Regions from separate parts of the Homo sapiens genome. Here region 1 is linked to region 2. The links are contacts of gene promoters, found by promoter capture Hi-C in human tissues and cell types (Jung and others, 2019). All regions are on one chromosome and are shown on one strand. The core of a region is centred on a gene start or on the middle of the fragment in contact, and the rest is flanking DNA. Distances in the headings are between cores, read along the strand shown.

Evidence for each region. Contacts are between HindIII fragments. The study calls those that stand out against the background at their distance.
Region 1: a contact is called between a fragment that was not itself captured here and the fragment with the promoter of FOXI2 in region 2, in 2 of the 25 tissues and cell types used here (hippocampus and pancreas).

The regions. Positions count from the first base shown.
Region 1 is chr10:127,781,950-127,787,625 of GRCh38, reverse strand. No RefSeq gene overlaps it. Among named protein-coding and RNA genes, the nearest start is that of FOXI2, 48 kb to the right of the region's middle. The HindIII fragment of the contact is 6,201 bases long and covers 1-4,654 here.
Region 2 is chr10:127,735,177-127,740,496 of GRCh38, reverse strand. It overlaps FOXI2 (forkhead box I2), which reads right to left and starts at 3,312. Exons shown (of 2, transcript NM_207426.3): 1 at 2,713-3,312; 2 at 1-1,977. The coding sequence starts at 3,223. The coding sequence ends at 1,532. The HindIII fragment of the contact is 23,826 bases long and covers 1-5,320 here.

The sequences.
Region 1 (5,676 bases), core at 305-2,804, 49 kb before region 2:
TTGCTAGTTGGGTGCAACAGCACTTTATAAAGAGCAGAAGAATAAATAAACTTGACGATGGATTAATAAAAATTACTAATAAAAAATAAAAATAAAAATGTGACAAAAAGAGAGAACAAGTATTGAAGATTAATGAACGAAACTTCAGAGACCTATGGACAATATGAGGCGGCCCAACATACGTGTATGGGAATCTCAGGAAAGAAAAGAGAGAAAACAGAAAAAGTATCTATTTGATAAAATAAATTTGGTGGAAATCATTATTTTATAGATTCAAGGATCTCAACAAACCTCTTGCAGTACAAACACCAAAAAGTTGTTTCTAAACATACATAGTCAAATGCTGAAAGCCAAAAAGACAGAGGAACAATATTGAAAGCGTTAAGAAACAAAGAAACATATCACAGATAGAGGGGCAGTGACAAGATTAAGGGCTGACTTCTTTTCAAAACCTTGGGAACTAGAAGACATTGGAAAAAAATATTCAAAGTGCTGAATAAAACCAAACCAAACCAAACAAACAAATAAAACTCTCTCAATTAAAAATTTGATGTCCAGTGGAATCATCTGTCAAAAATAAAGGTAAGATAAAAACATGTTCAGATAAACAAAAAACTGAGAGAAATTGGTAGAAGCAGACACGTACAACAACAACAAATTGGTAAGGCAAATTCTTCAGGCTGAAGGAAAACAGCACAAATAACGCTGATTTACCAGAGGCATGAAGAGTACCAGAAATGTTGAGTATGTGGCTACATGAAAGACATTATTAATATATACATTGTCTCTTAATTTTCTTGAAAGATCTGTGACTTTGTAAAGCAAATATGATGGCACTGTATTGATGGATTTGTAACACCTATAGATGAAATCTATAAGGCAATAATATCACAAAGAAGGTGTGTGGGGATACACAGAAATATATAGTTTTGAGTTTCCTGTATTTTACTTGCAATAATTCAATATTAACTTTAAGTAGTTTGATGAAAATTTAAGATGTATATTGTAACTCTTAGAGCAACCACTAAAAAGTAATGCAAAGAGGTAGCTACAAAGCCACTAAAGGAATTAAAATGAAATATTGAAATATTTCTCTCTATATATTTCTCTCTCTCTCACAGACACACACACACACACACACACACACACACACACACACAATCTCTCTCTCTCTCAAGGCAGGGCATGAAGAAGAGATGAAAAATAAACAAATAAGACAAACTCTAAAAATAGTAAAATAGCAATCTTAAATACAATAATATTAATAATTGAAATGAACTAGATACTTTTCAAAAGACAGTATAGAAATTCAAGAACTATTAATATATACTATTACAAGATATTTACTTTGAATATAAAAACAAATCGACTGAAAGTTACAGCCTGGTTAAGGATACCCTATGAAGACTTTGAACGGGAGTTGCTACATTGATACCATACAAAATAGATTTAAAGGCTGGACATATTACTACAAAGAGGAACATTTTGTACATCAAGACAATATAACTACATTTTGCTATGAAAAGAAATTGTGTATATGTGAGATCAAATCTATCAATCCTTTTTCTTTTTTTCTTTTTTTTTTTTTTTGAGACAGAGTCTCACTCTGTCGCCCAGATTGGAGTGCAATATCCTGGTCTCAGCTCACTGTAACCGCCACCTCCCAGGTTCAAATGATTCTCCTGCCTCAGCCTCCTGTCTCAGCCTCCTGTCCCAGCTGGGACTATAGACGTGTGCCACCACACCCAGCTAATTTTTTTGTATTTTTACTAGAGGCTGAAGTACAGTGGTGCAATCACAGCTCACCGCAGCCTTGCCAGGGCTCAGGTGATCCTCCCACCTCAGCCTCCCAAGTAGCGGGGACTACAGGCACAGACCACCATGCTGAGCTATTTTTTGTAGAGACAGGGTTTCACTATATTGCTCAGGCTGGTCTTGAACTTCTGGGCTCAAGAGATCCAACCACCTCGGCACTCCCAAGTGCTGGGATTACAGGCGTGAGCCACTGCACCTGGCCTGTCAATCCTTTCTCTTACTGTTTTTGGGTTTTGACTTTTCTCCACTCCCATATTAAAGACAGATTCACTCACAGTTTCTTCTAGTACTTAAAAGGTTTCATTTTTTTTTACATTTACATTTCTGATCCTGTTTCACCAACATAAAAAAATATAGAATAATCATTAGAAATTTTTGCCTCGGCCGGGTGCAGTGGCTCACACCTGTAATCGCAGCACTTTGGGAGAGCCGAGCTGGGTGGATCTCTTGAGCCCAGGAGTTGAAGACCAGCCTGAGCAACATAGTGAAACCCTGTCTCTACAAAAAATAGTTCAGCATGGTGGCCTGCGCCTGTAGTCTCAGCTACTTGGGAGGCTGGGGTGAGAGGATCACCTGAGCCCTGGCAAGGCTGCAGTGAGCTGTGATTGCACCACTGTACTCCAGCCTGGGTGACGGAGTGAAACTCTCTCTCAAAGAAAAAAAAAATTATGGCTCTACTGTATTTTATTTTCTTTTTACCTTTTATTTTAAGTTCAGGGGTATATGTACAGGTTTGTAACGTAGGTAAGCTTTTATCATGGGATTTTTTTGTACAAGTTATTTTATTACCCAGGTATTAAGCTTAGTACCCACTATTTATTATTCCTAATTCTCTCCTCCCAACCTCCTCCCACCCTCCACCTTCTGAAGAGCCCCAGTGTGTGTTGTTTACCTTTATGTGTCCATGTGTTTTCATCATTCAGCTCCCGCTTGTAAGTGAGAACACATGATACTTGGTTTTCTGTTCCTGTGTTAGTTTGCTAAGGACAATAGCCCCCAGCTACCTCCATGTCCCTGCAAAGAACATGATCTCACCTCTTTTTTATGGCTGCATAGTATTCCATGGTGTATATGTACCACATTTTAAAAATCCAGCCTATCACTGCTGGACTTTAAGGTTGATTCCATGCCTTTGCTAATATGAAAATAGATGCAATGAACACATGCATGCATGTGTCTTTATAACATAATGATTTATATTCCTCTGAGTATATACCCAGTAATGAGATTGCTGGGTTGAATGGTATTTTTGTCTTTAGATCTTTGAGGAATTGCCACACTGTCTTCCACAATGGCTGAACTAATTTACACTCCCACCAACAGTGTATGAGTGTTCCTTTTTCTCTACAACCTTGCCAGTATCTGTTATTTTTTTGACTTTTTAGTATTAGCCATTATGACTGGTGTTAGATGGTATCTCATTGTGGTTTTGATTTGCATTTCACTAATGATCAGTGATGTTGAGCTTTTTTTCATGTGAGTGCTGGCCACATGTATGTCTTCTTTTGAAAAGTGTCTGTTCATGTCCTTTGCCCACTTTTAATTGGGTTGTGTTTATTTTCTTATAAATTTGTTTAAGTTTCTTATAGCTACTGGATATTAAACCTAGTTGGATGCATAGTTTGCAAAAATTTTCTCCCAATCAGTAGGCTGTTTACTTTGTTGATAATTTCTTTTCTTTAGCTTCTTTTTACTTTAATTAGATCCCATTTGCCAATTTTTGCTTTTGTTGAAATTGCTTTTGGCATCTTTGTCATGAAATATTTGCCTGTGCCTACATCCTGAATAGTATTGCCTAGGTTGTCTCCCAGGGTTTTTATAGCTTTGGGTTTTACATTTAAGTCTTTAATCCATCTTGAGTTGATTCTTGTATATGGTGTAAGGAGGGGGTCCAGTTTCAATCTTCTGCATATGGCTAGCCATTTATGCCAGCACCATTTATTGAATAGGGAATCCGTTCCCCATTGCTTGCTTTTGTCAGGTTTATCTAAGATCAGATAGTTGTAGGTGTGAAGTCTTATTCCTGGGTTCTCTATTCTGTTCCATTGGTCTATGTATCTGTTCTGGTACCAGTACCATACTGTTTTGGCTACTGTAGCTCTGTAGTAGAGTTTGCAGTCGGGTAGCATGATGTCTCCAGCTTTGTTCTTTTTGCTTAGGATTGTCTTGGCTATTTGGGCTTATTTTTGGTTCCATATGAATTTTAAAATAGTTTTCTCAAATTCTGTGAAGAATGTCAATAGTAGTCTAATAGGAATAGCATTGAATCTACAAGTTGCTTTGGGCAGTATGGACATTTTCGCAATATTGATTGTTCCTATCCATGAGCATGGAATGTTTTTCCATTTGTTTGTGTCATCTCTTATTTCTTTGAGCAGTGGTTTGTAGTTCTCCTTGTAGAGATCTTTCACCCTGCTGCTGAGCTGTATTCCTAAGGATTTTATTGTTTCTGTGGCAATTGTGAACGGGAGTTCATTCCTGATAAGGTTCTCGGCTTGATCGTTGTTGTTGTATAGGAATGCTAGTGATGTTTGCACATTGATTTTGTATTCTGAGACTTGGCTGAAGTTGTTTATCAGCTTAAGAAGCTTTTGGGCTGAGACTACGGGGTTTCGTAGATATAGGATCCTGTCATCTGCAAACAGGGATAGTTTAACTCATTCTATAAGGCCAGCACCATCCTGATACCAAAACATGACAGAGATACAACAAAAAAAGAAAACTTCAGGCCATATCCTTGATGAATATTGATGCAAAAATCCTCAACAAAACACTGGCAAACCAAATCCAGCAGTACATTGAAGAGCTTACCCACCACAATTAAGTAAGCTTCATCCCCAGGATGCAAGCTTGGTTCAACATACATAAATCAATAAATGTCATTCATCACATAAACAGAACAAAAGACTAAAACCACATGATGATCTCAATAGACGCAGAAAGGCTTTTGATAAAATTCATCATCCATTCATGTTAAAAACTCTCAATAAACTATGTATCAAAGGAACATGCCTCAAAATAATAAGTGCCATCTATGACAAACCCACAGCCAACATCATACTGAATGGGCAAAGGCTGGAAGCATTCCCCTTGAAAACTAACATAAGACAAGGATGCCCTCTCTCACCTCTCCTAGTCAACATAGTATTGGAAGTTATGGTCAGGGCAATCAAGCAAGAGAAAGAAATAGAGGGCATCCAAATAGGAAAAAAAGAAATTTTTGTCTCAGAATATGTAAAAGGTCCTGACTCCGCATAACTGAATCAAAATGACATTTGGTAGTTAAGAATGATTGTATTTTCAGTTGCATTTACATGGTAAATAATCAGCAAAAAATTTCAAGGTATGAAAACAAAACTTCCCAAATATCTTCTGTTTTCAGCATCAAAGGGGAGGGAAATTTGGCAAGTGTGAAATAGCTCAGGCTCCTCACAGTTTTCTTGTGGGTTACTTTAAAATGAGCAGGAAGCTGCAAGGATGAGGTTTGAGAATGAATCATTTCTGGAAAGTGCAGAGCTGTGATTTTGGCTTCCCAGCGTGGTTAAGGTCATCGTATTCCTCTTTGTTATTAGTGACTTTCAGAGGGTCTTTCATACCTGTCCAGCCAGGGTGATGTGTGGCTCCATGCTGTGGAGCCCAGCCCACCAGCATGAAGAAGGGTAAGGTTACGTGACAGCAGTGAGACAGGCAGACAGCAGTAGGGCCTGAGGAATCTCCACACGCTCCACTCCAAGGGGGTTCCATGTCTGACTTTTCATAACTATAACTTATATGGCACTATTGAGATCCTGGTTAAGTTTCTCACTTTATAGAAGCTATTATAGTACAGTTAATATTTTGCTCTTTGCAGAGAACACACTT
Region 2 (5,320 bases), core at 2,063-4,562:
GGAGTCCCAGATGCCACAAAGACTCAGGGCATCTGACTGGGGCACTTAGGTCCTCTAAGGAGTACAGAGGCCAAAAAATTCCTCTTCCCAGTGACTGGGGGCTCCTTGTCCTTCACAAAGATACCATCCCTAAGAAGGAACTGGGTGGGGCAGGGTTCAATTTACACAGGAGGCTGCTGTTCAGGAGCTCTGAACACACGCACAGCTTTGGCTCAAACTGTGGGTTTGGAGGGGAAAGAGACCAAAACAAGTGTGGCCTTCCATGAGCCTGTGTGAGTGTGGGTGTGGGTGTGGGTGTGGGTGTGGGTGTGGGTGTGGGTGTGTGAGTATGAGTGTGGGTGTGGGTGTGAGTATGAGTGTGGGTGTGTGTGGGTGTGAGTGTGGTGTGAGTGTGGGTGTGAGTGTGAGTGTGGGTGTGAGTGTGAGTATGAGTGTGGGTGTGAGTGTGGGTGTCAGTGTGAGTGTGGGTGTGAGTGTGGGTGTCAGTGTGAGTGTGGGTGTGGTGTGAGTGTGGGTGTGAGTGTGAGTATGAGTGTGGGTGTGTGTGGGTGTGAGTGTGTGTGGGTGTGAGTGTGGGTGTGGGTGTGAGTGTGTGTGAGTGTGGGTGTGGGTGTGGGTGTGAGTGTGGGTGTGAGTGTGGGTGTGAGTGTGAGTGTGAGTGTGGGTGTGGGTGTGGGTGTGGGTGTGAGTGTGGGTGTGAGTGTGGGTGTGAGTGTGGGTGTGGGTGGCACAAACCTGGACCCTTGGGGAACTCCTGGGTGCTGGGCACCGCTCCTGTGGTCAGTGGTGGCGGGGCCCTGGGGAGTTGCCTTGTCCTAGAGGGGGGTCATCAAGGACCAGGGCTGAGTGACAGGGAAGGGAGCTGGTATCCCAAGGGCGCTTTCTGCCCACGCAGTGCTTCTCCCTCCCACCACCAGCAGTTCCAACCATTAGCAAGACCTTCCTTACACAGGACCCAATGCCAACTGTCTCAGATCCCCTCACTGCAGGCTCCTGGCCCACCTGGAGCCCACTGCAGCTGCTCCTGAGCTCTGTCCCCCAGCCCCTGCGGCAGCTTCCCTGAAGCAGAAGGGAAGGCCCTGAGCCAGGTGGGCCAAGCTGGGTGGAGGTGGAAAGGGCCCCCACCACCTGGGCCGCTCTGGCAGCCCACCTTCTTCCCATCTGCTCTAAGGCTCTTTGGAGTCAGCCAGCCTCCTTGGAAAACGCTGGAGCTGAGGGCCGACCCGCCGCCCCTTCAAGGCAAATCCCTCGAGAGCACAGGTTCTAGACGCCCAGGGCGGCTGGACTTAGAGGCAGAGCAGGGAGGTTCCGAAGGTCGCCTGGGTGAGGGGTGCACAGCAGAAGGGCCACCCACCCCAAAGCCCAAGAGCCGCTCAGCCCAGCTCCCTGCTGGCCGAGCCGCCCCCGGCTCTGCGCTTCCTCCCAGGGCACCAAGGCCTTCAACGCCAACACGTGGGGCTGTCACCAGGGGAAACCGGAGGCCTGAGCTCAGCACCTCTGGACCCGCACCCGGCTAGCCTCCAGCCTCCCTTCAAACTTCGGTCCCTTCCCGGCTGTAGAGGAGGTGACTGAGGCGGAAGCCGGCGGCCGCGGTCTGGTGGCCAGGGGCGAAGCCAGGGGAGGGGTTAAGGGTCTGGGGAGCGTGGGTGGCGACTGTCGGTGGCCGCCTCCCGAAAGAAAAGTCGCCCGCCAGGCCCCCGGGGAAGGTGCCAAGGCCGCCAGCCAGAGCGCTCATAGCAGAAGCGAAACCGGAGAAGCAGGTGGCGGCCTCGGGTGCGGATGGAGAGGGCGAGGCCTGCAGGTCCAGGCAAGCCGCGCTCGGGGGCTCCAGCGCTGGCGCCTCGGCCCCTCCCACGCTCCTGGCTCCCGAGCGCACGGCCGCGCTGGCTTCAGCTCTCCTCTTCCTCTTCCTTCGGAAGTTCCCGTTGTCAAACATCTTCTCGCAGTTGGGGTCCAGGGTCCAGTAATTGCCTTTACCTGCAGAAGAAGAAACAGCCCAGTTCAGAAGGTTCGAGCTTTGACGGGCCGTGGTGTGAGCCAGCGAGGAGGTCAGCTTCAGAAAGATCCCCTGCTGGCCCTTACAGAGGGTCTGAGTCCTCGCCCCCATTCCACCCTTGACGGGCACTCTGTACCCGATGGGCCTCCACAGCAGGACTGGGAAGAAAGTGACAATCCAGAAAGGAGGAGGAAGGGAGCCCTGGGAAAGGCCGAGCCCCGTTAAGGTGAAGGAAGGCCTGCGAGATGCTAATGGTGGGACTCCGCCAGCCGCTCTGCCAAGGACAGCGCAGACCACGCCAGGCCCCCAGGTAGGCTCCAGAGCTTTCCAAACGGGCATCCTATTTGTTTTGCCCATCCTTGGGGTAGGCGCTGTCTTCCCCATTTTACCAGGTAGGGCACTGAGGCCCAGGGAAGTTGAGTCACTCCCAAGGTCACCCAGCTTGCTGGCTCTCCCGCTTCTTCCTCCGAAGGAGCGCACAGAGATTGAGAGCCCCGGGACCGCCGCACTGTAAACGCGGGCCTGTGGTGGGCTCAGCCGCTGTCTGAGAACCTGTCCATGCCCAAGCACTTCTTCCCCTTCTCCCTCCTCCCCGGGTATCCCCAACCGCGCAGGGAGAAATTAGGTTGTCTAAGGTGCTCCCACCCCCGGAGTGCCCGCGGCCCGGCGGGAAGATGGGGAGTCCTGGACGGAGCGAGCCGGCGCGCCGCTGTTACCTGGGTCGTCCTCGTCGCGGGGCACCTTCTTGAAGCAGTCGTTGAGCGACAGGTTGTGGCGGATGGAGTTCTGCCAGCCCGCCTTGCTGCGCTTGTAGAAAGGGAAGTTACCAGCCACGTACTGGTAGATCTGGCTGAGCGTCAGCTTCCGCAGCGGCGCGCTCTGGATGGCCATGGCGATGAGCGCCGAGTAGGAGTAGGGCGGCCGCACCAGCCTCAGCAGCTCCTGCTGGCCGGAGAGGCTCAGCCAGGCGAGGTCGGCGCCCGCCAGGCCGCCCGGGGCGCCGAGGAGCGGGCCGGGAGCCCCGTAGCTCGGGGCCGCGTAGGGCGGCGCAGGCCCGGGACCCGAAGCGTAGGACTTGGGGCTGAGCGCTGGCGCGTTCACCCACAGGAGGGGGCCCCCGCCCACCGCGCCCAGATCCCCTGGCTCATAGCCCGGGGGGTGCGCGGTGGCCTGGGCCTGGCCGGGCGGGGCCGAGGAGGGGCCCAGGTCGTCGCAGTAGGTGGCCATGTCCAGCCGCGCCCGGGCCTGGGCCAGCGGTGCCGCACCGAAACTCACTGGCGACCCATCCAGCTTGGCCGCCAGCAGCGCCCGGGTGCGACCAGCCCGGCCCAGCCCTCCGCCCTTTAAACACCGTCGGGGCCAGAGCCCATGGAGAGTGACGGTGGCGAGCCCCTCCCCTGGCAGCCCTGGAGGAGCGAAATCCTTGTCCTCGCCCTGGTGTCAGTTTTCCGCCCCGCCCAGGCCTGACACGTCCTGGACCGGACGCCCCTCTGATTCCCCCTTCCTCCTTTGTGCGATCCGTCCCGAGTCCACAGTCGCTCGCGGTCTTGGTTGCAGGGACCCTAAGTCCGTAGCCTCGTCTGGCTTCACGGGCCCCGCAGCCCCGACTGCCCTGGACCGTACCACGACTCCTCAAGGCCCCCAGGGCTGTGGCTTGGGAGCCCCGTCCAATGCGCGGCCCCTTTGCTCGGCTCGGGACATCTCGCCCCAAAGAAACTCGCCTCGCCGGGGCCCCTGGGTTACCCGGGACTCGGGGCTAGGGATAGAGGGCGACTACACTGCGCAAGAGATCGCAATGAAGTCCGTAGATCTCCAGGCTGGAGCCGCAGAGCGAGGTGGCGAGGTGGAGAACGCGGGGCTGGGCCTGGACAGCGGCCCTGGGGTCGTCTGGAGTCCTCGCTCCCTCAACCCGGAAGGCAGCGGACTGACATCTGCGCCGAAGTCGCGCGTACCCCACGGAGGGTCGGGACCCTGGAAATTTCGAACGCCCCAGCAGTTCAGGGCAGTCATCGCTTTTCCCAAGCCGGGGAGTCCGGGGCCCCGCCAGGTTTCTCCGCGCTGTGACCTCGGGCGCGCAGAGCGGAGAGCGCCAAGCTCTCTGCTGGGTGTCGGAGGACGCGCCGAAAACAGGGACGTCTCTGCAGTGCGTCCGACACCAGCTCTCCAGTCCTGCTGCCGCCCGGGGTTGCTGCAGCCCGGGTTATCCCGGCCCCCCAAGCTGCCCGGCTTTCGGCCTCCCCTGCTCCCCGCGCTGTGGGGTGGCGGAGGATGGACCCAGGCTGACGCTGGGCTGGGTACCTGGAAAGAGGGCCCGCCTCCCGGACTCCGAGTCGGGCACCTGTGCGAAAGAGGCGAAAATTCAGGCCTGGTGCTCAAGGCTCAGAGATGAGGAGACCTCCCCATCCCCCCAGATTCCTGCCGGCGGTGTTGGCGCTGACCTCCTGGAAGCTGGCCTCGCCCTGGGTATTCCCCAGCGTTACGCGGGCCTGTGGATCTAATTTTAATTCATTTGTAAAACAAAAGGACCAACCCTTCCCGACTTTTGGCGGTGGAGGAGGCTTGTAGGTTGAGGCCAGCGGTTCGATCGAGGAAAGAGTTTGGGTTTGGGGATTAAAGGGCCCATTTGAGTCAGCGACTTACTGGTGGTGCAGCCCCTCGGCCTCCCAGATCGTAGTTCCAAATTTTATGTAAAACAACTAATTTATGGAACAATTTAACAAATGGCAGAAAGAAGTGAGAGTCCCTCTGTTGGGACGTTGGCCTCTCGCCTTAGAAGTGAAGCCCCTTCAGAAGTGGTGGGTGAACCGAAGGCATTTCCCAAGCAGTCAAGAGAAAAGAAATACCCCAAAATGGTTCTTTGAGGTCGGCTTTTCGGCTGGACTCTGCCCCCTTTTCCTTCCCCCTTTCCCAAAGATTTCTGATTTTTGTCAAAGGAATGCTAGTTGTGGGGGTCCCAGGTGCCTTTTACGAAGCCGCCCTCCCCTTCCATCCCCGTCGTTGCAGGGGCGGTTGCGGGGTCAACGGGAAGTACTCGGGGTGGGACACGCCTCTTCTTGCTGAGTCTCAGGTGAACACAGTCTATTGCTTCCACCCAAAAGAGCAGCCAGTGCCACCTGCCACTCAGCTTAGCGATTTCCAGTGCCCCCCTCAGGGGAAACCATGCTGCTGTCCGTAGGTGTGACCAGCTTTTTGGTGACTACCTCTTGAAGAAAGTGTCTTTCCCTCAGCACATGTGTAGCAAACAGGACTTGGATCCTCTCCTTATGGTGCAAACCCATATCACCGCCTATAGACACCCACTTTCCTCCCATAACACCCTTCCGG